7 separate regions of the Homo sapiens genome follow, and regions 1, 2, 3, 4, 5 and 7 are each linked to region 6. The links are contacts of gene promoters, found by promoter capture Hi-C in blood cells and fetal thymus (Javierre and others, 2016). All regions are on one chromosome and are shown on one strand. The core of a region is centred on a gene start or on the middle of the fragment in contact, and the rest is flanking DNA. Distances in the headings are between cores, read along the strand shown.

Region 1 (3,258 bases), core at 67-2,566, 410 kb after region 6:
GCAGTGGGCTTCTGATGAGTTTTGATGCAAGTGATGCTTAAAGGAAATGAGACTAGAAGGCGATAAGAAAAAGCCTGGGCACCACCACCATGAGGGGACCTGAGGACCCAGAATTTGACAAAATCTCCTGGGGGTGTAGGCTAGCAATCAGAGCCCTGGGATAACGGGGTGTGGGAGCTATAACTAAGCCCCAGCAAGACAATCTCCTGAGCTCTATCTATTGTTCAGAGATTTCCTGAGCTCTGAGCCAGGCACAGGGATGCAAAAGCCATGGGCTCTGCTCTCTGGGAGCTTCTAGTCATGTGGGTTTTTTCAGATATGGGGGGCAGCAGACAGGGCAGACCACAGGCAGGAGAGGACTTGGGATCTGACCGAGCTGTCAGAAGATCAATTGAGTAGGCAGGGGCTGTAGGCCCCAGGGTCTGGCAGCCAAGCTGGGATGCCCTAGCTTGATGCAGTCGATCAGGGACTCTCGGAAGGGATTTGTTGTGACTTCTTGGGTGTTTGCGGAAGGTTAGCCTGGCAGCAGCCAGACTCCTGGAGTCCTACCAGATAAGAAAAGGGTCCCTGAAGCTTTTGTTGGGGAATCTGGAGGCCTCACATGACTTAGGGGATCCCATGAATTCTGCTATATTAAAGGATTTGGCAAGATTCCAATGACCTGGGCCAGGCGCGTGGCTCATGCCTGTAATCCCAACACTTTGGGAGGCTGAGGCTGGCGGATAACGAGGTCAAGAGATTGAGACCATCCTGGCCAATATGGTGAAAACCTGTCTCTACTACAAATATAAGAAAATTAGCTGGGCGTGGTGGCACGCACCTGTAGTTCCAGCTACTTGCGAGGCTGAGGCAGGAGAATTGCTTGAACCCGGGAGGTGGAGGTTGCATTGAGTCAAGATCGCGCCACTGCACTCCAGCCTGGTGACACAGCAAGACTCCATCTCAAAAAAAAAAAAAAGATTCCAATGATCCTATAATTTTATTTACCTGCTTCCCAAATATGGGGACTCCCCTCAACCCAGGGAAGGCACTCCCTATCTTGTCTTTCACCTCATAGTCCAATGTACCTCTGGGGACCACAGGGAGGAATGGAAGCTAAGTTGGCTTGAGACACCATCAGGTAGGGACCTCCCTCTCTGTGCCAGGCCCAGCTGACTTCTAGTCCTCCCTCCCCTCCCCCATTATAAGGCTTGGGGAAGCTCCAGGGCTCTGGCTGGGCAGTGGGTAGCAGTGGCTAGAGTGGAAAATCCCCCACCAGCTGGATGATATCAGTGTTTACAGATCTGGTCCTGGCCTTCTGCCTGGGGCCTGAGGACCTGACAAATCTGCCTGGAGCCCTGAGTGTGGGGTACGAGGTCGCAGAGAGGCTATTGGCACGGGGATTTTTTTCCCACTCACTCCAAAATGGAGAGCTGTCCTGGGCCAGGTGAGCAGGCACTGGGCCAGCTCCAGGTCACCTCAGGCAATGGGAAGCTGGTAGCTGGGAAGTGGGGTGGGAGTTGGGGGAGGTGGGGGAGGGGGTGCCGAGATGAGGGATAGAGGAACTAACAAATCAGACTTGGGGGCTGCACAAGGGCTTGGGAGTGGGTCATGGGAGACATAGGCACTTTAGGAGAACTGAAGACAGAAGCAGGGACGCAGCGGGGCAGAAGAGAGAACGAGGAACAGCAGCAGGGCGCAGGCCTGTCCCTCTTCATATGCCCCTGCTCCAGGCCTCTGATCTAGGTCGGTACAAGAGGCACAACCAGAAGCTGGTGTGGCTTACTCTGTGAGTGTGTCCTGAGCATTTGCTGAATTATGACAAGCATTTCTCCAAATGTCCTGTTTGACCTTGAAAGCCTCTGAAGCTGCTCAAATAGCTGTGACTTCAGCCATTGTCATCCCAGCCCCACCACCAGCACCAGAACTCCCGACACTGCCATCAGCACCACCCTCACCATCACCATCATTGTAACCAGCATCCTAGCTACTAGCTACTGACCTCTTGACCCCCTGACACCCCTATCTCCTCCCCTGAGGGTTTGAGGGTGCTAGGAGTTAGGAGTGGAGTCAAAGCTTCAAGTACATAACCTAGAGACAAGCAGTTCTCAATGATTTTGCCCATCCAGAAGACACTTAGCAGTGCCTGGAGATATATTTGGTTGGCACAATGGGTGGACTGCTCCTGGCATCGAGTCGGTAGATGCCAGGAATGCTGTTAAACATTCTATAGTACACAGGATGGGGCCCACAACAAAGAACTATTTGTTCCAAAATGTCGACAGCACTGAGGTTGCGAAACCCTGGCTATAGATCCTATCTATCCCAGCACTCTGCCTCTACCTTTTTCTGGCCCTCGTCCCTAAATGCACACATTATGCCTCTGGTTTGGGAACAAGACGTAATCTTCACCACTCCATCTTACGGCAACTTTCTCTCTTATCGCTTGCACCTCCTGGCCTCCGATGCTTGAACCAAAAAGTCAATAAGATGAAAGTCTGTTGCGGCCACCCTCAAGAAGGAAAAATACACAGAAACGATACACGAAGCACAGGGTACACCCTGGGTTGAGGTCATGGCTGCCCAGGGCAGGGAGGCAGCGATTAGACTAATCTTGGGCGTATAAAAGAGGAAAGAGTGCCCAGGTCTTCACTCCACTGCGACTGCAGAACTCAGAGCTGCTCTTCCTCTGTGGCCAGTTGGGGACCAGCATCATGAAGTGGATGGTGGTGGTCTTGGTCTGCCTCCAGCTCTTGGAGGCAGCAGTGGTCAAGTGAGTCTGGGATCTGGCTGCTGGTGCAGGGAGCCTGGATGGGAGCCTAAAGCCCTGCAAAGGGCAACTGGGCCAGGGGACACCCTGCCTGTCTCTACTCTGGGACTTCTGCTAGGGGAAGGGAAGTCTCCCTTTGCTGATGTTAGACAGGACACATGGGTGGAAGGAGACACAGCCCCTGCCTTCAGGAAACTTCCTATCAAAGGGAAAAGCACGATCCCTTCCCCCATCTGATGAGGAAAGATGGACCTGAAACAGAGGTGGTAAGGGTGACTACTGCCCAAGCAGCCCTTGAATGGCAGGTGTGGATTCTTCTCACAGAAGGGAGCAATCCTTTTTGGATAAGGGATATCTTATCCACTATCCTCTCTAAAAGTTGCTTTAAGGCTGAAAATTTACTGGCAGATGCCAAAATCATCTAAGCAGAAACACCAGTAAATGTAAATCTCTACACCTGAGGGGTCAGGAGAAAACTCTGGAGTAGATGGCATGGCTCACAGGCCATC
Region 2 (3,763 bases), core at 354-2,853, 390 kb before region 6:
TTGTCTCGATCTCCTGACCTTGTGATCCACCTGCCTCAGCCTCCCAAAGTGCTGGGATTACAGGCGCGAGCCACCGCACCTGGCCCAGTCATTTAGGATTTTTACTCACCAATTTTTGTTGGCATTTGTTTCCATCAATTGCTTTTGCCAATGGCTAATAGTTGTACTCTTCCATAGTTGAGTTTACACACCTATATGGTCTGCAAATAACTGAGTGTTAATTAGCATTAATTGAGTGTGGCTATTCTCTACACACATTCCAGTCTGCTCCTTTTGGGTTCAGTCTGTCCACAAGTGCTACATGAGGAGTCTCTTAGAGTTGTAGCTTGTGCTGCTCCCTATTGGAGGGAATAACCCCATGCTTATTGAGGGCTGATCCTTGACTAGGAGGCGCCATTACAAAAAGAAACAGGATCAGGCTGGGCACAATGGCTCATGCCTGTAATCCTAGCACTTTGGGAAGCTGAGGCAGGTGGATCACTTGAGGTCAGGAGTTCAAGACCAGCCTGGCCAACATGGTGAAACCACGTCTCTATGGAAAATACACACACGCACAAAAATTAGATGTGTGGGGTGGTGCGTACCTGTAATCCCAGCTACTCGGGAGGCTGAGGCAGGAGAATAGCTTGAGCCCAGGAGATGGAGATTGCAGTGAGCTGAGATCATGCCACTGCACTCCAGCCTGGGTGACAGAGCAAGACTTCGTCTCAAAACAAACAAACAAAAAACTGCTCTGATCTGGAAAAAATAAATTCAATCAAAGATCTCTTAACTGATGTAGTAAATTTGTGTTTATGGTCATATTCAGTACTTCCCCGGCCTCCCTCCTCTTCCCCTTTATGATTTGATTCCCGGATAGTTTGTTCATAATTTATCTACCATTTAGTTAAAAAGAGTTTTCATTTTTACTTTCATCTTTCTGGTGAATTGTGAAATTATAAGTTCCTGTCCCAGTTTACTTAGTGGATTTTCATCAGATTGGTCACCATCATCATGTAGAACCTAAAAGGTAGAGGGAAATTTCATTTTAGACTCATATGTTTACTTGTTAGTTTAGACTCATTTGTTTACTTGTTAGTTTTCCCTTGTTTTCCCACTCTTTGTCCCAATCCTTCACTTGTATTTATCAAAGCAAAGTTCAAAATTCCTTATTTGTATTTATCAGATCCCTTCATAGGTAGCATCACCAGATGTACTTGGGGTTTTGGCAATTTATTGATGGGACTCTTACCTGTCCCCATTATTGTTACTCACTCTTTGGTCTGTCACCATGGAGTTATATGTTGGAAGCAATTAGGAGAGTAAATGGCTTGTGATAGAACAGTAGGCTTCCTCATGCATGTTCCTGAGTCAGTGAAAATCCTCAGCTATAAAGTGAGGAGTCAATGCCTCCACCCTCCTTTACTTGCTGCTTAGGAGATGGGCAAGTAGGAAGGGCCATTTTATATTCAGATTATAAACCCATTCTTGACAAATCAGATGCTAAGAAATCAGGAATGCTGTTTTTCTGTACATCTCCTTAGTGGTGGCTTTTACCGAATTCAGCATTAATTGTGACAACATAGTTTTGGCTCTGATGAGAGGGCAGCAGTGAAATATAACCTACCTTTAGGCCGGTGCCTCCAGGCACAGAAAAGGGTAGGGAAAGGATAAGCTCACAGGGCTGCTGTGAGTAGCACGTGCGTGGACTGCTAAATACGTTGGGTCCTCCCCCAGGCCAAGGCAGCATCCACTCCTCCACGGTCTCTCTGGTCATGTGACCACTTGTCTGCCTCTCTCATCTTATCAGAACATCTACAGCTTTGTTCCACGGGATTCTTCACTAGGGATCTGATGGCATCCACGTGAGGAACCAGGAGCTTAATTTTGTCCGCCAGTCAATGGAATCCACAGCCGGCAGCCAAGCCAGTGGCCTAAACATAAATCACTGCCTGCGAATTTGAATACAGGAAAGTCTTGTTTGCTCTCTAGAGCCCAGCTTCAAGTCATCGGTACTGCCTTTGGTTCTGCCCACTGGGAAGAAGCCCCTCATTCTCCTCTCCAAGTATCCCCCCCAGGCAGGGTATAAGGGGACCGCCACCGCTGGAGGTTTTAGAAGTGAGGGAGGCAAAGCCACCCACAAAACCGGCGGCAGCTCAGAGTCCACCGTGCTTCTCCGGCACCGATGCCGGGAGCCTGCAGGGGGCGCCCTTGCCCAGGCTGGCCTCCGCAGTGCCGGAGGAGGGACCAACCTCCGTGGGGCTGAGCTTTTCGATCTCTGGAGTTCCTCTTCAGCACTGGAGCTAGCTTTTGTTTGAACGTGACCGATTCCTGTTATACAGCTTGGGACCCCGAAGTACTTGATGTCCCTTGTCTTAGCTTCCATAAGCAGCTGGTAACTGACATTCAAAGGGAGCATCCTCAGGACTAGAAGCCACAGGCTAAGTCCTTCCCCTCCCTCAGGAATTCCCAGAAGGCTCCGGTCATCAGCAGTTAAGGAGACACACTTCATATTCTGATTGGTGATATGGACCCAGAGGAAGGGCAGCAGGCACTGTGGTCTGCAAGGCTTCGGAGGCAGTGGCTGGTTCGGACCGCATGCAAATTCTGATGCCCTTCTAATAATCTAATACCCAGATGTGGATCCAAGATGCCCATTAATATCTATGCCTGCTTTTTAGTGGTAGGGGGCTTGAAAAACAAAAGCCTCTATCTGGTCCAGGGTGAATTCCTCTAGCGGGCAGAGGCAGAGCCAAACTGCATCTTGGAGGGCGCCTGAATTTTCTCATGATTGATGGCACATCCCTTTCAGTCAAAAAAATCAAGGGAAGACAGAGCTTCAAGCACAGTTGTTTCTGAATTACCCCTAATTAATTTGTCATCGTTGTACAGAATAACTTCAGTATCTGAATTAGGCCACCTATTAAAATCCTGCTTTATCAGATTATGGCACATTGCCGGAGAATGGATATTTCACTTTGAAGGGAATTGCTGGCCTCGCCAAATGAAGGCTAGCTAAAAGTAGGGTTGTCAGATTTAGAAAATACGAATAGAGGGCACCCAGTGAAATTTGGGTTTAAGAGACATAACAAATAATTTTTTATTTAAGTGTGTTCCAAGTATTGCATGGGATGTACTTATACTAAAAATCAATTTGTTCTTTTTCTGAAATTCAAATTTAAGTGGGCATCCTGTATTTTATCTGGCAACCCTAACTGTAAAAAGAGAATTCAAACAATTTAAAAGACCTTAGACCTTCGGTACCATTGTAGAGAGATAATCACCATTAAGAGTTTGGGGTGTGTCTTTCCTTTTTTTGTTTTGTTTTTGAGATGGAGTTTCACTCTTGTTGCCCATGCTGAAGTGCAATGGTGCGATCTCGGCTCACTGCAACCTCTGCCTCCTGGGTTCAAGCGATTCTCCTACCTCAGCCTCCCGAGTAGCTGGGATTACAGGCATGCGCAACCATGCCCAGCTAATTTTATATTTTTAGTAGAGACAGGGTTTCACCATGTTGGCCAGGCTGGTCTCGAACTCCTGACCTCAGGTGATCCACCTGCCTCGGCCTCCCAAAGTTCTGGGATTACAGGCGTGAGCCACTATGCCCGGCTTGGGTATGTCTTTCCATAAACTATTCATGAATATACACAAATATTTATGTATGTTCAAATCCTGGTTCCTCCAATTGCTAGCTGAGTGACCTTGGAAGAGTTAACTAATCTCTCTGGATCTTAGTTTCTTCATCTGTAAAATGGGCATAATAATAGTATCTGTCTCATAGAGT
Region 3 (3,335 bases), core at 244-2,743, 330 kb after region 6:
AGTATGGATTTAGAAGCTCAAGAGAGTTAGTGGTGAAGAAAAATGATTAGTTTATTTCAAAAATGGTAGCTCTACTTTTTTTTTTTTTTTTTTTGAGATGGAGTTTTGCTCTTGTTGCCCAAGCTGGAGTGCAATGTTACGGTCTCGGCTCACTGCAACCTCTGCCTCCTGGGTTCAAGCAATTCTCCTGCTTCAGACTCCCGAGTAGCTGGGATTACAGGTGCGCACCACCACGCCCAGCTAATTTTTTGTATTTTTATTTATTTTTATTTTTATTTCTGTTTTGAGATGGAGTCTCGCTCTGTTGCCCAGGCTGGAGTGCAGCGGCACAATCTCGGCTCACTGCAACCTCCACCCCCTGGGTTCAAGCGATTCTCCTGCCTCAGCCTCCTGAGTAGCTGGGGTTACAGGTGCATGCCACCACGCCCGGCTAATTTTTGTATTTTTAGTAGAGACGGGGTTTCACCATGTTGGTTAGGCTGGTCTTAAACTCCTGACTTCGTGATCTGCCCGCCTCAGCCTCCCAAAGTGCTGGTATTACAGGCGTGAGCCACTGCGCCTGGCAATTTTTTGTATTTTTAGTAGAAACGGGGTTTCACCATGTTAGCCAGGCTGGTCTTGAACTCCTGACCTCAGGTGATCTGCCCACCTCTGCCTCCCAAAGTGCTGGGATTACAGGCATGAGTCACCAATCCCAGTCGATAGCTCTACCTTTTATAGTGACAATGCAGGTTATCTTGTGTGGAGGTTCCTATCAATCAGCCTGTACAGGTAGCACCAGTGTATAACAATCTCTTGGCCAGTCAGCACTGGTGCTTCGTGCTGCTTTCCTAAATTTTTTTTTTTTCTCTTGAGACGGAGTCTTGCTCTGTTGCCCAGGCTGGAGTGCAGTGGTGCGATCTTGGCTCACTGCAACCGCCACCTCCCAGGTTCAAGTGATTCTCTTGCTTCAGCCTCCTGAGTGGGATTACAGGTATGCACCACCATGCCCAGCTAATTTTTGTATTTTTAGTACAGATGGGGTTTCACCATGTTGGCCAGGCTGGTCTCGAACTGGTTAACCTCAGGTGATCCACTGGCTTGGCCTTCCAAAGTACTGAGATTACAGGTGTGAGCCACCACGCCTGGCCTGCTTTCCTAAATTTGAATTGGTTGCAAATCTGTTTTGTTTGCTCCATCATTGTCTGTCATTAACATACTATTTATTTATTTTCAAAAGTATAAACTTATATGGAATTTCTGTAGGGGTTAAAGTAGACACTAGGTTACCAAGGCATAATTTCCCAAGACTTGGAGACCTGTGATCACTGGGAGGATTTTTGGATCTTCATCTGAACTTAGCTATATTAAACATTGAAACAATCCTACAAAATGCCTAGATGAGACAGGTTTACAGGTAAGTTTTATCAGACCTTCATGGAACAGATAAACCATAGAAGAATTAAACTGTTTTAGAGAAGAGATAAAGTGGGAAAGCTGCTATCTCAGGTTTTGAGGTTAGTATAATCTTGGTACAAAACAGGGAAGGTCAGTATATTATAAGAAAATGAAAGGCTAATCTTCTAAAAATGGATTTGAAACATCTAAACAGTACTAGCAAATTGAATGTATTATTGTATTAAAAAACAAAACATCAAGACCAAATAGTTTGTTTAAATTATTATATGCAAGGATGGTTTCATATCAGAAAATACATCACTGATATCATCCAACATATTAATTTTTAAAAGGGGAAGTTCTTCTTATTTTCTTAATAGGTTCAGAAGAAAACATTATATGAACTTTAATATTTAGTCTGATTAAATTTTTTTCACAAAGCTAGAAATAAAAAACTTTCTTAACCTAAAGTTAACCAAAACTTCCTTTGGTAGACATCACACTTAACAGTAAAACTACAGACCTGTTCCCTCTCAAGTTAAGAACAGTACATGGTGCCCACTATCAGCCTTAATATTTACTAATCAACTGAACTTCCTGGTTAATTCCAGAAGACAAGAAAGAGAGGACCAAGCTGTCTATATTTGAAGACTATGTAGACATCCATAGAAAATTCAAGAGAATCCGCCAGGCGCGGTGGCTCACGCCTGTAATCTCAGCACTTTGGAAGGCTGAGGTGGGCAGATCACCTGAGGTCAGGAGTTCAAGACCAGCCTGACCAACATGGAGAAACCCCATCTCTACTAAAAATACAAAATTAGCCGGGCATTGTGTTGCATGCCTGTAATCCCAGCTACTTGGGAGGCTGAAGCAGGAGAATCGCTTGAACCCGGGAGGCGAGGTTGCAGTGAGCCAAGATCGTGCCATTGCACTCCAGCCTGGGCAACAAGCGCGAAACACCATCTTAAAAAAAAAAAAAAATTCAAGAGAATCCACAAATTATTAGAACTAATAATAATAGTTCTGCAAAGTTGCTGAGTTTCAGATCAGCAACCTTTTGATTCAACCATACAAAATTATAATTTATGTAGGTCAAAATGGTCGTTAAATATTTATTTGCAGTTTCATATGATTAAACCTAATACAGAAATCAATCACATTCCTGTCTACCAGCAATAATCATTTAGTAAATGTATACTTTTTTAAAGATTCTATTCATAGTAGCCACAAAAAAACTATAAAGTATCCAGGAAATATCTAAACAAGAAATATATATCTTGGGGAGAAAACATAATCAAAAGACCTGGATAAACAGAGAGATAGCATGTTCATGGATGGGAGGACTTCATATAATAAAGAGGTAATTTTCCCTAAATAAGTTTATAAATTCAATAAATGCCAATCAAAATTTCAAATGATTAAGGGTGAGGCTAGGAGGAAAAAATCCAGATGTATTGACAACCTAAGTGTAAACTTCAAACTTTTAGAAGAAACTGTTGGCAAGTACCTTTATTACCTTGGCATAAGAAAGGATTTCATAAACAAAAGATGAAATTATAAGATGCGTCATATGATTGTATTAACTGTAAATCTTATGTATGACAAAAGATGCCTTAAACAAAAGACAAATTGCAGACAGAGGATATTTACAACACATCTGACTGCCAGAGGCCTTGTATTCAGAATATATAAAGAACTCCAATCATTTAATATGAAAAATATAAAACAGCCTAATCAAAAAATAGGCAAAGCTTGATCTCTTGGAATATGTAATGCCTATTATTTTGTTTCTGCCAGTATTAAATATGATGTTTCTATTGATAGCACCTTCAAAGCAGCTTAGTTTTTTGAGACAGAGTCTTGCTCTGTCTCCCAGGCTGGAGTGCAGTGGTGCCATCTTGGCTTACTGCAACCTCCGCCTCCCGGGTTCAAGCAATTCTCCTGCCTCAGCCTCCCAA
Region 4 (3,756 bases), core at 1,139-3,638, 300 kb after region 6:
TCTCAGACTTTTTGATTTAATGGATCTTTAAAATGCACACGTGTGTGTACACTTACATGCACACACACATATACACCAACCTAAACTAACATCTGCTATCATCAACATGCAAGAAAGAATATTTTAACACCAAGAACATTGGAGACATATAATCTCTTAATAAAGAAACCAGTGTTTCCCAAGAACAAAATAGATAGGAATCTTACCCTGGTGAGTGAAATTATTAGTCTGAAGATTAGTAGTTGGGGAACTCATTCATCTCGACTGGTAGATTAAGATCCTATTTTGGGTTAGAATAAATTACCTTGGGATAGAATGAAATCGCAGGTGATTTATCATATTAGTTGGAAGTATGTTCAGGGAAATCTTAGTTGAACTGTAGTTTATGCTGCTGCTTTTTTTTTTTTTTTTTTTTGAGACAGAGTCTCGCTCTGTCGCACAGCCCGGAGTACAGTGGTGGGATCTTGGCTCACTGCAACCTCCGCCTCCTGGGTTCAAGAGATTCTCCTGCCTCAGCCTCCTGGGTAGCTGGGACTACAGGCGCACACCACCACACCCAGGTATTTTTTGTATTTTTAGTAGAGGTGGGGTTTCACCATGTTGGCCAGGCTGGTCTCGAACTCCTGACCTCAGGTGATCCACCTGCCTCAGCCTCCCAAAGTGCTGGGATTACGGGCATGAGCCACCCCTCCTGGCCTACCCTGCTTCTTTTTTTTTTTTTTTTTTTTTTTCGAGACAGAGTCTCGCTGTTGTTGCCCAGGCTGGAGTGCAATGGCGCAATCTTGGCTCACCTCAACCTCCGCCTCCCGGGTTCAAGCAATTCTCCTGCCTCAGCCTCCCAAGTAGCTGAGATTACAGGCATGCACCACCTTGCCTGGCTAATTTTGTATTTTTTTTAGTAGAGACGGGCTTTCTCCATGTTGGTCAGGCTGGTCTTGAACTCCCAACCTCAGGTGATCTGCCCGCCTTGGCCTCCCAGAGTGCTGGGATTACAGGCGTGAGCCACTGTGCCTGGCCTACCCTGCTTCTTAGTAAGACTCTTAGTGTTTGCCTTGGTACCTTGAGATGGCCTTACCTATCCAGGTTCTTTGTACTTATTTCTCATCTTCTATATGAGATTGTAAACTCTGAGGTCAGAGATCTTACATTGGACAAATGTTTTAGTGCTTATCTTTTTGTGTGTGTGGTAAAAAAACATAAAATTTAACATCTTAAACCCTTCATTTTCAAGAGTACAGTTCACTAGTATTTAGTATATTTGCATTGCTGTGAAACAGTTCTAAAGTTTTTCATTTTGCAACAGTTTTCATTTTGCAAATCTGAAACTCTATACGCATTAAAAAACTCTCCATCCTCTTCCCCAGTCCCTGGCAACCACCATTCTACTTTGTCTCTATGAATTTGACTTCTTTAGATACCTCATATAAATGGAATCATACAGTATTTGTCTTTTTCCGATGGGCATATTTCATTTTGCCTAAAGTCCACAAGGCTCATTTATGTTGTAGCATGTGTCAAAATTCTCCCCCCCAGCTCTTTTTTTTTGAGATGGAGTTTCGCTCTTGTTGCCCAGGCTGGAGTGCAATGGCGCCATCTCGGCTCATTGCAACCTCCACCTGCTGGGTTCAAGCGATTCTCCTGCCTTAGCCTCCTGAGTAACAGGGATTACAGGCGCAGGCCACCATGCCCAGCTAATTTTTGTATTTTTAGTAGAGATGGGGTTTCTCCATGTTAGGCTGGTTTCGAACTCCTGACCTCAGGTGATCCATCCGCCTAGGCCTCTCAAAGTGCTGGGATTACAGGTGTGAGCCACTGTGCCTGGCCAGAATTCTTTCATTTTTAAGGCTGAATAATATTCCATCTCATGTGTATACCACATTTTGTTTATCCGTTTATCCATTGATGGACATTTTGGTTGCCTCCACTTCTTGGCTGTTATGAATAGTGCTGCTATGAACATTGGTGTTAAATATCTCAAGGTCTCTTGAAATTTCATATGAGTTTTAGAATTAATTTTTGTATTTCAGAAAATTGCTGCTGGGATTTTGATAGGGCTTGCATCGAATCTGTATATTGCTTTTGGTAGGATTAACATTTTAACAATACCAAGTCTTCCAATCCAGGAACATGGATATCTTTCCATTTATTTGTGTCTTTAATTTCTTTCCACAATGTTTTATAGTCTTCATCGTCCAAGTCTTTCACTTGCTCAGTTTTATTCCTAAGTGTATTTTATGCTGTTATTAATGAGATTTTAAAAAATTTCCTTTTGAATTGTTCATTGTTAGTGTATATAAATACAGCAGATTTTTGCATATTGATTTTGAATCCTGCAGCTTTGCTGAATTTGTCTATTCTAACAATTTTTTTGCAAACTCGTTAGGATTTTCTTTTTCTTTCTTTTCTGAGATGGAGTTTCACTCTCGTTGCCCAGGCTGGAGTGCAGGGGCACAATCTCAGCTCACTGCAACCTCCGCCTCCTGGGTTCAAGTAATTCTCCTGCCTCAGCCTCCCAAGTAGCTTGGATTACAGGCATGTACCACCACACCCAACTAATTTTGTATTTTTAGTAGAGATGGGGTTTTACCATGTTGGTCAGGCTAGTCTCGAACTCCTGACTTCAGGTGATCCGCCCTCCTCGTCCACCCAAAGTGCTGGGATTACAGCACAGGTGTGAGCCACCGTGCCCGGCCCAGGATTTTCTATATATTAGATCATGTTATCTGAGAACAGATAAATTTACTTCTTTTCTTTCTTTTTTTTTTTTTTTTTTTTTTTTGAGACGAGTCTCGCTCTGTCTCCCAGGCTGGAGTGCAGTGGCGCGATCTCAGCTCACTGCAGCCTCTGCTTCCCAGGTTCAAGCAGTTGTCTGCCTCAGCCTCCCGAGTGGCTGGGATTACAGGTGCCCGCCGCAATGCCTGGCTAATTTTTTTGTATTTTTAGTAGAGATGGGGTTTCACCATCTTGGCCAGGCTGGTCTTGAACTCCTGATCTCGTGATCCATCTGCCTTGGCCTCCCAAAGTGCTGGGATTACAGGTGTGAGCCACCTTGCCCAGCCCAGGTAAATTTACTTCTTTTCCAATTTGCCTAATTGCACTGACTAGAACTTTCAACATTATGTTGAATAGAAGTAGTGAGAGTGTGCATGCTTGGCTTGTTCCTTGTCTTAGAGAAAAGGCTTTTATTCTTTCACCACTGAGTATGATATTATCTGTGAGGGTTTCATACATGGTCTTTATGATTTTGAGGCAGTTTCCTTCTATTTATACTTTGTTTGATGTTTTGTCATAAAAGGGTGTTTTGTTGAATCTTGTCCAGTGCCTTTTTTGCATCAATTGAGATGGTCATCTTTTTGTCCTTATTCTGTTAAAGTGATGTGTTACATTGATTGATATTCATATGTTGAATCATACATGCATTCCAGAAATGAGTCCTACTTATTGATAATATGTAATTCTTTTAACATGCTACTGAATTTTCCAGTATTTTGTTGAGGGTTTTTACCTCAATACTCACAAAGAATATTCATCTGTAGTTATCTTTTCTTGATGTCTGTGTCTGGTTTAGTGTCAGGGTAATGCTGGCATCATAGAATGAGCTTGGAAGTGTTCCCTCCTCCTCAGTTTTTGGAAGAGTTTGAGAAAACTTGGCATTCATTATTTTTTAATGTTTGGTAGAATTCTCTAGTGAAGCCATCTGGTCCTGGGCTTTTCTTTGTTGGCAGTTTTTTGGTTACTGATTTAATCTCCTTACTC
Region 5 (3,431 bases), core at 748-3,247, 360 kb after region 6:
CTCTCCCAGGGCAAGTAGTTAAGAGTCTCATTCCAGGAACCCTTTGTAGTTAGTTGGCTGGCATGTTTACTTGCTGCTGTAGCCAGCCAAGATGAGTGCACCTAGGCCCTCAAAAAGGATTTTTTTTTACCTCAATCTAGCCTGACCCTCATATCTGTGGTTGCCTCTGAGACGAACATCCATGCTAGTATAAAAATAGTTAGGAATGCCCTTGGCAGAACTGAAGCTCTTATTAAATGGTGGACAGAGCTCTTGCCAGCTTTGATCCAGCCCCTCAGTCTCGGAGTTATGGGGCAGGGTTGGGGGGCAGTGCTACACTGTAAAGAATTTCCAGGCTGGGCGCGGTGGCTCATGCCTGTAATCCCAGCACTTTGGGAGGCCGAGGAGGGCGGATCACAAGGTCAAGAGATTGAGATCATCCTGGCCAACATGGTGAAACTCCGTCTCTACTAAAAATACAAAAATTAGCTGGGCATGGTGGCACGTGCCTGTAGTCCCAGCTACTTGGGAGGCTGAGGCAGGAGAATCGCTGGAACCCAGGAGGCAGAAGGGGCAGTGAGCCGAGATCGTGCCACTGCACTCCAGCCTGGCGACAGAGCGAGACTCTGTCTTAAAAAAAAAACAAAAACAAAAACAAAAAAAAAAAAAGAATTTCCAGATGTCTCTTAAAATGTCATGAATAAAATTGGAAACTGTAGAAGTGTTAATGTGTCCTATGGACTCAATAGCAGAGTTTATTTTTGTTTTTAATGGCAAGGCTTCTAGAGTCAATGATTGTATGAGTTTGCTACTCTGGCTGTGCTTACAGCTTCATCCAAGTACAAGGGAAGAACCAATGAGGTGGATTGGCTGACAGTGGGGCATGCCCCAGCATAAGCCCTAGAGAGGTCGACAGTAGTGCAGAATGAAAACTTGGTCGGGGATGGCGGGTGGTGGGTGGGAGGAGGGTGGGCTGGCCGGGAGGGAGAAATGGAGTTTGTTCTACTTACTGATAAAGCTTTGTGAACTAATTTTATACAATTCATAAAATTTGGTGCCTTGTACTCAATTACGGTTTGCATGGAATTGAAAAGATTAAGGGAAAGGATTTCTTCTTGTCATTTCAAGTGGCAAATGGGTCTGTGTAGTGTTTAAAGGACATCTGGTATCACAGACTTTTAAAAAGCATTTCATGTCTCTTGTGTGTGAATGCAAATTATTCTTACCAGCAAGTTCTGAAATTATGTTACAATGTCCAAATTCTTTGTATTTGTGACTGTTCATCAAATGGCTGCTTTTCAAGGCAGACTGTGTACTCCATTGTTTTTCACTTCCCTTGTCATGTTCCATACATTGACTTGGGCCTTTTTAAATCAGGCTGGGGGGCTACCCCTTCTTAAATGAATACTATATCCCTATCTGAGGTTACCTCTTGTGAGTGGAAGGGTTGCTTTCCCAGGTGGTTGGGAGAGCACAAATGTTGAGAAAAGGCCTTTTAGTCTTTATCAAAACAATGACTAATGCTGGGCAACATATAGCAGAAGTCAAACAAAAATGATTCCTCCTGAAATGGTACCTTCATTGGTTCTGATGTTCTTTTGCAAAAAATGTCCGGAAGCAGTATAGAAAACCCCCTGTATGTGAACCTTAGATTGTAAGGCAAGCCAGTGCACTGTGTAATATGCAAAGGGAGTGGTGCAAAAGAGAAGGCACCCGTCCCAGCTCTCCATGCCCTTTCCCTGGCAGGCGCTGACTGAGATGGCGCTGAGTGAATGTGGAAGGTGCTAAGACCCAGTCTCTTCACTGCAGGGCTGTTTACAGCCAGTTTCTTTTACTCTGACCTTAAGGTTTCCACTGAGCTCATGAAACTTCAACATATGGTGTTTAAAAGTTTCCCACTCAAATGCACACTTGAAAATTGGGTCCCTCAGCCTCATTACTGAACTAAATAAGTGAAGAAGTTGTATCTTTGGGGTAAAACTTTCCAGGGCCACTTAATTTTTTAACCAGTTAAGTACGCATCTTCCTGGTGGTTCAGACTTTTTAAGTCAGTGCTAAAGCTGAAAAGCGCCTTCTAAATATGACTGTGAGTTTAGTTTGTATCTTACATTTAGTAACTGTTCTGTTGGGCCAGGACTATGACTTTAATTACTATGTACTTATTCATCCCACACTCTGCACTAAATACACCATAGCTACTATAGCATTGTGGCAGGCACTCATTTTTGTGGACTCATTCCATACTTCTGCTGGCATATTTCGTTTAAAATCTAGCTAAAGATTTTCATAGTACTGTGTTAACTAGCCAGGGCTGAAAAGTGTGACAGGATATCAAATTGACTTTCCTTGGGGAAAATGTTGCTTTGGCAATAGTGAAGTCCAACTCCTTCATTTACAGAATTAGTGATTACTCATCAATTTTTGAAAGTTGTAGATTAAGTAGTTTTATTTACTAAATTCTTAACCACTTTGAAGATTTAAGCCAGTTGAAATGAAACATTGGCTGGATGCAGTTGGCTAGCACCTGTAATCCCAACACTTTGGGAGGCCAAGGTGGGAGGATTGCTTGAGGCCAGGAGCTCAAGACCAGCCTGGGAAACATAGATTTGAAATCTTTTCAAAAATGTATAAAAATTTAATAAATAAATAAATGAATCCTTACTCAACCATAATTATGGCTTTAAAACCCAACCAACAGTAAACACTTACTTGAAGCCAAAACAGTAAATTTTGAATGAAATTTGAATTATGCTTTTGGAAGCTGCCATGTCTTAATTCTTGCTGGATTTTGATTTTCAATTTTGGAAGTTTTTATCAAAACTGTCCAGTCATGAGTATATCAGGTAGCAGCCTTTAAGGATCTAAGTTTCATTCCTATAAAGAACAGGAGGTGCTGGTATTTCTTGTCTTAGCAAGTGATCTGATGCAGGTCTAAATGGGGGTTAGCATCTATACTATGGCTTAAAAGTTTCCTCCTTGGTCACCATTTGGGAGGTGATGGCTTCAAAGCTAAGCTTTGCTCTCATGTGACCCTTCTTTATCTTAATACCCAATAAGATATAAACCTCTCAGAGTCAACCCAGTGTAGACTCAAAGGGTCTTAGCTTCATCTATCAGATAAGATCTATCTGATTTATACAAAGAATGGTGCTGTTTTTATATACATACTAAAAAAATCTAATTCTCAAACAATTTTCTTAATATTTATGCCAGCAAGGTCAGGAAAGACTATTTTGTCCTGTTTAACTTTAGTAGTGAACAAACTGCTAGAGACATCTGTCATCCTTAACAGGCCACTGTGGTCCTTATATACTGACCCTCCTTTCCAATTAACGTCCTTTAATCCCATACTAGTTCCATAAGAGACTTGGCACATAAAAGCAGTATTTTTTTTAATGCCTAGTAAACTGGCCAGAAAAAAATATTGCCATGGTGGACCTGTTTCTATCCAC
Region 6 (3,723 bases), core at 620-3,119:
AGTGACAGAGTGAGACCTTGTCTCAGAAAAAAGAAATATCCCTTCATAACCCCCATCCCCACAGGCGGACCCCACAAAGGCCTTTCAGATGCACAGTACACATGTATTAATATGTACATATATACTAATATGCGTTTGTCCCTTATGCCGGGGTTTAGAGTGAGGAAGTGCATGACTCAAGAGTGGGGCTTTCTGAGTAGGGCAAGAAGATCTCATCTGTGATATTACTACAGGTTTTCTAGGAAGGCACCCTGTCCTCTCAAATCCTCCAGGGCCATAGGCACATGGCCTTGCCCAGTGAGAAATTCCACCTGTAGCCTCCTCACTCTGGGGGAAGGCCTTGTGCCTTATTGAAATGCAAATAGCACTTGGGTGTGAAGGCTGGTGAGGGCCCCCAGGGGCACGTGGTGCTGTCCAATGTGCCTTGGCTTTGGTGTTTGAAGGTCTGAGCTCTGGGCCTGACCCTGTTCTTACAGGTCAGGCGACCTTGGGCAAGTGGCTGAGCCTCTTTGAGCTTCAGGGGCCTCATCTGCAAAATGGGGATAATAAGGCTATCTAATTCACCAGCTTGTGGTGGGGTGCCATGAGTGCTGGGAACGGTAAAGGCACAGTGCAAATAGTCATTACTCTCAGCCTCTCGGGCAGTTACACCGTGGTTTCACACACATACCTGTCTGAACCTATAGGAGAGCACGTTTCCCTTTGGGGGAGCACAGGGGCTTTGAAGGGAGTGGTTAGGGAAGCCGGGGGTAGGCCTCAGCTTCCTCATGTGACTGGGTAGCATGAGAGCCTGGAGCCAGCTACCCCAGTTCAAATTCCAGTTCCCTGCAGGGCCCGGTGGCTCACACCTGTAATTCAGCGGGAGGTTGAAGTGGGAGGATTGCTTGAGCTCAAAAGTTCAAGACCAGCCTGGGCAACATTGAGAGACCTCATCTCTATTTTATAAAAAAGTAAAAAAAAAAAAAAAAGAAAAAAAAATGGCTGAGCACAGTGGCTCACGCCTGTAATCCCAGCACTTTGGGAGGCCGAGGCAGGAGAATCACTTGAGGTCAGGAGTTCGGGACCAGCCTGGTCAACATGGTGAAACCCCGTCTCTACTAAAAATACAAAAAAATTAGCCGGGCGTGGTGGCAGGTGCCTGTAATCCCAGCCACTTGGGAGGCTGAGGTGGGGGAATCATTTGAACACAGGAGGCGGAGGTTGCACTTAGCTGAGATTGTGCCACTGCACTCCAGCCTGGGCAACAAAGCGAGTCTCAAAAAAAAAATAAATAGAATTCCAGCCCTCTCACTCACTAGCTGCCTGATCCTTAGGCAAATTATAATCTCTGTACCTCAATTTTCCGAAGTATAATGTGGGAATAACAAGAGCTCTACCTCATAGGGTTCATGTGAGGACTTAATGAGCTAGTCCATGTAAGGTGCCTAGACCTCTTAAGCACTCAAACTTTAGCTACAATTATTATTTATCTCAAGTTTGCCTTGGAGATGGTGTAACACGAACCAAACAGTCCAGGACACACTTTACAGCAGTGAAGGGGCAGAGGAAGCAAGATGGAGGGTGTCCTGTTCCCTCTCTCCATCTCCCCAGAGAGATCGCAGAGGTCCGACAGCTGGGGAGTACAAGGCAGGCAGCAGCACCAGCACCAGCACCCAACTAAGCCTTTTGTAAGAGGACCTACCTCCCAGCCGCACATGTGAGGCTGGCTGGGGCTTTCATGCTCTTTCCTGCCCATCAGGCTTCTTGTGACCCCGAGCTGACCTTCCCCAGCCCTGTGATTTCATCACACCTTGCACATCCTGGACCAGGGCCTTTCTTGATGGTGAGGTGGAACTTCTGGTGGTCAGGGAGGACTCTTGGCAGGATACTGAGAGTGCCAAGGTGGGGAGAACTTGTATGGGGCAGGGGGCATTGTGACACCTCTTTACAACACAATTCCTTCTGTCTTCCCAAGGAGACATGAGGCCAGGGCTGGGGACTGACGTTTCAGGACCTGGAAGGGTCTTTTAACCTTGACACTGGCCCACTATGCTATTCCCTCTTCCCACAAACCCATAGAACCCTAAAACTGTGGGCAGGAGGTGAATGGAGAGAGATCATCCTAATTATCAAGGTGCCTCCAGAAGTCCTAATATCCCCCCATGTCCCAATATCACTGTCAGGAAGGAAATGTACCTTGGCAACTCTTCATTCTATCTATCTATCTAATCTATCTATTTATTTATCTATCTATTTATCTATCTATCTATCATCTATCATCTACCACCTGTCAATCATCTATTTATCATCTATCTATCATCTATCTGCCTTCCAAATTACAGAGATGAGTGGATGAATGGATGGGTGGACATGAGTGGGAGGGTGGATGGACAGGTGGATGGACTGGGTTGGCAGATAGATGGTGGATGGGCCAACCCTTGTGATTTGAGCCCTGCTCATCTCCTTAGCCTCATCTCTTGCTATCTTTCCCTTGCTCTCTATGGAGTAGCTAGTTTCTTAGACATGCCCCACTCTCTCCCCTCTGAGCCTCTACATATGCCATTCCTTCTCATGGATTGCTTTGAACAGAGGGTTGGGAGATAAAGGGATGGATGAACAGGTGGATAGACAGATGGCTGAATAGGAGTGACCATGTGTGAGTGGATGGATGGATGGTCAGTAAATGGACAGATGGTGATGGCTGTGGTATAGAGGATTGCAGGTCTGGGAGTTAGAATGCCTGAGCTTGAATTCTGGCTGTACTACTTTACTAGTGTGTAACTTTGGGAAAATTAATTGACATCTCTATGCTTCTGTTTTCTCATCTGTAAAATGGGTAAAGTCCCTACCTAATAGAGTTGGGCAAAGCACTTAGGACAGTGCCTGGTACAGAGTAAGCATTGAGTAAACATCAGCTATGACTATGTGTGGGTGGGTAATTGGATTGATGGGTGGGTGGTTGAATGGGCTGTCCTGTCCCCATCTTCAAAAATCAGCTCCCCTACCTCCCTAGGGTCCTGTCTCCCCAATACCACACTTGGTAGGCAGCTTCCAGGAGTAATGTCAGAAATCCCACATGTAGGAATGACATGGGCTTCTCCCTTGGTTGAGGGGAAGGAGAGAGTTCCAGCGGGAGGTAGATAGAGCTATTGGGTGCCTTCCTGCCACACCAGCTTGGGCTGGGCCCGGAATTATTTGTTTTCTTCCTGGCCCTGAGTCAACGCTGACAAGATGCACTTTGGGGCCGAAGGCAGACTGGAAATTGGGGTGTTGATGACTTGTGTGCTGTCCCTAGATCTCACACCCTGATGGTAATGACCCCTAATTTCTAAGGAGGCTGGGAGGCACCAGGAGAGAAAGAGAAGGAGCAGCGGAGCATTAACTGGGCTTCCCCTGCCACAGCCTCTGACCGGCAATCTCCAAGCGCTCTGGGGAGGGTGGAGTCTTGTTTGGAAGGGAGGCTGGGGACATGGCATTCTGGACAGAGTGCCCAGCATCTCTGCATCTGGGGGAAAATGGCCTGAAGGAGCTATCAGGAGGGAGCCCAGGTGTCTGGGTGTGGGTTTGGGGGAGCCACGGCTTAGCACACATTGTACTTTGTCTCAGCCAAAGTGGGGTGAGGTGCTGGGCTGATAACCAGGAGAACTGGGTGACCTGAGACAAGTCCTGTCCCCTCTCCAGGCTCAGTGTCTTATGTGTATCATGAGGACATTGTGTCCCTCCACCTTGGATACTTGATGTCCA
Region 7 (3,557 bases), core at 186-2,685, 280 kb after region 6:
ACTCCAATTTAAAACTTTTAATTAAAAAGTAAACTTTAATGTCGAAAATGCAAACTTGGGGAGGACAGAAAGATAACACACAAGGCTGTCACTTCATACTTGGATGGTTGCACAGCAGTCGCGCAGAGGCACTCCTCACTTCCCAGACGGGGCGGCGGCCAGGCAGAGGGGCTCCTTACTTCCCAGATGGGGCGGCGGACGCCCGGCCGGGAACATATTTTCTTAAAGTTTCTTCGAAGAGGAACTCTGTGTTAGCTGTTAGGATGACACAATAGAGAATTTTCTTTCCTCTTACAGTGGTGGCCCAGCTTGCCGATCTCAAGCTTAATACTGAGTCCTACTTCCTGATAATGTGTCAGAAACCTTAAACATGCTTATACATATAATTTGTCAAAATCATAAACTCTAGATGTCTTTGGCTAATATATTGTCCTTGTGTACAGAATATATACCGCTTTTAAAGAAGCATGCCGCTTACATATAGGTCATAAACCCACTTAGCACAAAAGAGTCACCACCTCATGCCATCTTGTTATATATTTTGCTTACGCAAAAATAATTTTAGCTTTTGATATTCGAGTATTTTTGTTACCATGAATTTGTGTGTTTTTTCCTGAGTTTCAGATTGTATGCAAATATAATGTGTAATTTTTAAGACCTAAAACAAATGCAGAAGTGCTTTTTTTCAGGAAGTAAACCTTTAATACTTCCATTTGTAGATCAGTCTACCCATAAGTGACTGACTCTTTGGTTACTCTTAGCTGAAAAGAAAGATCACAGTTTTTTTTTTACTCTTACATCAGTTTTAAGGACTTGTAGGGAGTTTAATGCATTGTAATTTACTGGTCCTTTTTTGAATTTGTATTACAATTAATGAAATTGCTTTTTTCTTGCCATGTATTAGCCCAATCTTACAGATTGTTTCCCACTTGTAGGTAATAGAGAAGAGGAAACCTAACCAATGACTGTGGAATAATATGGAAGAAGATGGAAAAAACTTGTTTAATGGGTAAGAAATAAAAACTGTAATAAAACATTATTAATGAAAGCTATTTATAATAATAGTATTATGTGTGGCTGAGGTTGGCATACTATGAGGGTAATTGATCAGTTACTGTTTTGTCTAACTCCATTCTGAACTTTCACCGCTTGCTTTCATCTTAACCTTGTGAATTTTTTAGTACCACGAATTAACTTAAGCTAAGAGGGGACACAGCCATATTTGAAGTTAAAATGGGACCTAAAGACCAGCAACCATACTGAAACAAGTCTAGGGTAGGTCTTGAAACTTGGTGGTAAGATAGAGATCGTATCTGTCATGACCTGTCAAGAGTAATTATCTACCCCTTCTTTTTCTCCAAATATGTCAGTTGCTATGATGTTTGTCCCACCACGAGGATCCCGTTCATTTGAGCAAGTGCAGATGTGTGTCTGGTGGTAATCAAATAGAATTCTGCTTTGGGAGGTTGAGGTGGGAGGATGGCTTGAGGCCCGGAATTCTTTTATTTATTTATTTAGTTTTGAGATGGAGTCTTGCTCTGTTGCCCAGGCTGGAGTGCAGTGGTGTGATCGTGGCTCACTGCAACCTCTGCCTCCCGGGTGCAAGCAATTCTCTTGCCTCAGCCTCCCAACTAGCTGGAACTACAGGCACCCGCCACGACACCTGGCTAATTTTTGTATTTTTGTAGAAACGGGGTTTCATTATGTTGGCCAGGCTGGTCTCAAACTCCTGACCTCAAGTGATCTGCCCACCTTGTGCTGGGATATGCCTCCCAAAGTGCTGGGATTACAGGCGTGAGCCACTGTGCCTGGCTGAGACCAGGAATTCTAGCCAGCCTGGGCAATATAGCAAGACCTCATCTCTACCAAAAAAAAAAAAAAAAATTAGCCAGGTGTGGTGGCTAGCTACTCGGGAGGCTAAGGTGACAGGATTGCTTGAGCCCAGGAGATTGAGGCTGTAGTGAGCTATAATCATTCCACTGCACTCCAGCCTGGGCAACAGAGCAAGACCTTCTTAAAAAATAGAATTCTACAGAAAGCTCAGTAAAAGGTTTGACTTTAAGTTTATGAGATATAAAAGTTTTTTTAATTATGCAAGTTTATACATTCATGTCAATAATTTAAAAATAACAGATAACTACAATCCTCTACCTGAATCTTACCCTCCTCCCAGAGTCTATAAGTATATGGCATGTATTTGTGCAACCTTCTTTGCCTAGTGGTTAAAAACATGGATTTGGAGCCAGACCGTTTTTAACCAGTCACTATTAACTTGACATTTGGACATGTTATCTCTGTGCCTCAATTCCTTGGATATAAGGTGAGGACAATAAAATGCTATCTCTTAGCAATTGATTAGTTAATCCATATAAAAAACTTGAAATAATGTCTGGAATGAAGTAAGTGTTTAGTAAATGTTAACTATAATTCTCATATGTATCCCAGTTAGCCTTTTTATGTGCCAGCCATCCACACATAAATTTTTCTCTGATACATTCCAAGAGTTAAACCATCTCAGATACGGTTAACCATGGTGGCAAAAGCTTTTTAGTTTTTTTCATGAGAAGTTTTCTTTTGACTTCATCTCTGAGTATGCTGCTAGACTATGTGTGAGGATAAAGTTCTATATCTTTACCTTTTACTGTATATCTTAGGGTGTATATGATGTTTATAGTTATATATGAATAAACAACTATCTTCAGCCTAACATAGGTTCATCTTGCCTGTAAAAGTATCTTGTAAAGCAGGCTACACAATTCTTTTGTTTCTAGATAGCTATGTCAAATGCTGTGTTGTGTTTCTGTCAATCTATTTTGAAGGACATGCCTTCTTGAGTTTTTTTTCTTTTCTATTTTTTTTTTTTTTGAGATAATCTTCCTCTGTTGCCCAGATTGGTGTGCAGTGGTGCAGTCTTGGTTCACTGCAACTTCCACCTCCCAGGTTTAAGCAATTCTCATGCCTCAACCTCCCGACTAGCTGGGATTACAGGCGTGTGCCACCATGCTCAGCTAATTTTTGTATTTTTAGTAGAGATGGGATCTCGCTATGTTGTCCAGCCTCTCTTGAACTCCTGGCCTCAAGTGATCCACCCACCTCAGCCTCCCAAAGTGTTGGAATTACAGGCATGAGCCACTGCACCCAGCTTGAAGTATTTTTTTTTCCTTTTTGCACACAGGATCATAGTAATTATTTTATTTTTTATTTAAAGAGACAGAGTCATGCCGTGCTACCCAGCTGGCCTTTAACTCCTAGACTCAAGTGATCCACCTGTCTGAGCCTCCTGAGTAGCTGGGACTATAGGTACCACTGTACCTGGGCTAGAGTCATAGCAGTTTTGAAGATTATCTCTGATACTGTTTGTATGGCTTGTCAGCACTTTCTTAGGTGGTGTAGACAATTAACTATTTTAAGAAGGAAGAGCACTTAGAAACAGTAATCTATTTTTATTGTTTCCTGTTATCTCGGTGTTAAAATTAAAAAAAAAAAAAAAAAGACTAAGAACAGAAACAGGCCAGATGTGGTGGCTTACGCCTGTAATCCCAGCACTTTGGGAGGCT

What was found. Contacts are between HindIII fragments. The CHiCAGO score rates a contact against its expected background, and 5 or more counts as called.
Region 1: a contact is called between a fragment that was not itself captured here and the fragment with the promoter of CIMIP3 in region 6, in 1 of 17 cell types (naive CD4 T cells). The highest score is 5.1, in naive CD4 T cells.
Region 2: a fragment that was not itself captured here is called in contact with the fragment with the promoter of CIMIP3 in region 6 in 2 of 17 cell types (endothelial precursors and megakaryocytes); the score reaches 6.0 in endothelial precursors.
Region 3: a fragment that was not itself captured here is called in contact with the fragment with the promoter of CIMIP3 in region 6 in 8 of 17 cell types (activated CD4 T cells, non-activated CD4 T cells, total CD8 T cells and 5 more); the score reaches 7.3 in activated CD4 T cells.
Region 4: a fragment that was not itself captured here is called in contact with the fragment with the promoter of CIMIP3 in region 6 in 7 of 17 cell types (total CD4 T cells, non-activated CD4 T cells, naive CD4 T cells and 4 more); the score reaches 12.0 in total CD4 T cells.
Region 5: a contact is called between a fragment that was not itself captured here and the fragment with the promoter of CIMIP3 in region 6, in 9 of 17 cell types (total CD8 T cells, naive CD4 T cells, non-activated CD4 T cells and 6 more). The highest score is 9.8, in total CD8 T cells.
Region 7: a contact is called between a fragment that was not itself captured here and the fragment with the promoter of CIMIP3 in region 6, in 4 of 17 cell types (megakaryocytes, naive CD8 T cells, non-activated CD4 T cells and 1 more). The highest score is 6.5, in megakaryocytes.

Annotation. Positions count from the first base shown.
Region 1 is chr6:41,746,770-41,750,027 of GRCh38, reverse strand. It overlaps PGC (progastricsin), which reads left to right and starts at 2,631. Exons shown (of 9, transcript NM_002630.4): 1 at 2,631-2,752. The coding sequence starts at 2,694. The HindIII fragment of the contact is 1,482 bases long and covers 576-2,057 here.
Region 2 is chr6:42,546,183-42,549,945 of GRCh38, reverse strand. It overlaps LOC124901317 (a long non-coding RNA gene), which reads right to left and starts at 2,921. Exons shown (of 2, transcript XR_007059578.1): 1 at 1,607-2,921; 2 at 774-1,002. RefSeq lists an enhancer at 1,874-2,053. The HindIII fragment of the contact is 6,264 bases long and covers 1-3,763 here.
Region 3 is chr6:41,828,340-41,831,674 of GRCh38, reverse strand. The region is part of intron 3 of USP49 (ubiquitin specific peptidase 49); the gene reads left to right. Among named protein-coding and RNA genes, the nearest start is that of TOMM6, 42 kb to the right of the region's middle. The HindIII fragment of the contact is 3,275 bases long and covers 1-3,130 here.
Region 4 is chr6:41,850,976-41,854,731 of GRCh38, reverse strand. All of the region lies in intron 3 of USP49 (ubiquitin specific peptidase 49), which reads left to right. Among named protein-coding and RNA genes, the nearest start is that of USP49, 43 kb to the left of the region's middle. The HindIII fragment of the contact is 8,920 bases long and covers 1-3,756 here.
Region 5 is chr6:41,790,461-41,793,891 of GRCh38, reverse strand. USP49 (ubiquitin specific peptidase 49) reads left to right here. Exons shown (of 8, transcript NM_001286554.2): 8 at 1-3,431. Among named protein-coding and RNA genes, the nearest start is that of TOMM6, 4.5 kb to the right of the region's middle. The HindIII fragment of the contact is 1,996 bases long and covers 1,000-2,995 here.
Region 6 is chr6:42,153,552-42,157,274 of GRCh38, reverse strand. It overlaps CIMIP3 (ciliary microtubule inner protein 3), which reads right to left and starts at 1,869. Exons shown (of 2, transcript NM_001384994.1): 1 at 1,790-1,869. The coding sequence starts at 1,798. It overlaps GUCA1ANB-GUCA1A (GUCA1ANB-GUCA1A readthrough), which reads right to left and starts at 1,869. Exons shown (of 5, transcript NM_001319062.2): 1 at 1,682-1,869. The HindIII fragment of the contact is 11,083 bases long and covers 1-3,723 here.
Region 7 is chr6:41,869,016-41,872,572 of GRCh38, reverse strand. USP49 (ubiquitin specific peptidase 49) reads left to right here. Exons shown (of 8, transcript NM_001286554.2): 3 at 936-1,009. Among named protein-coding and RNA genes, the nearest start is that of USP49, 25 kb to the left of the region's middle. The HindIII fragment of the contact is 2,220 bases long and covers 326-2,545 here.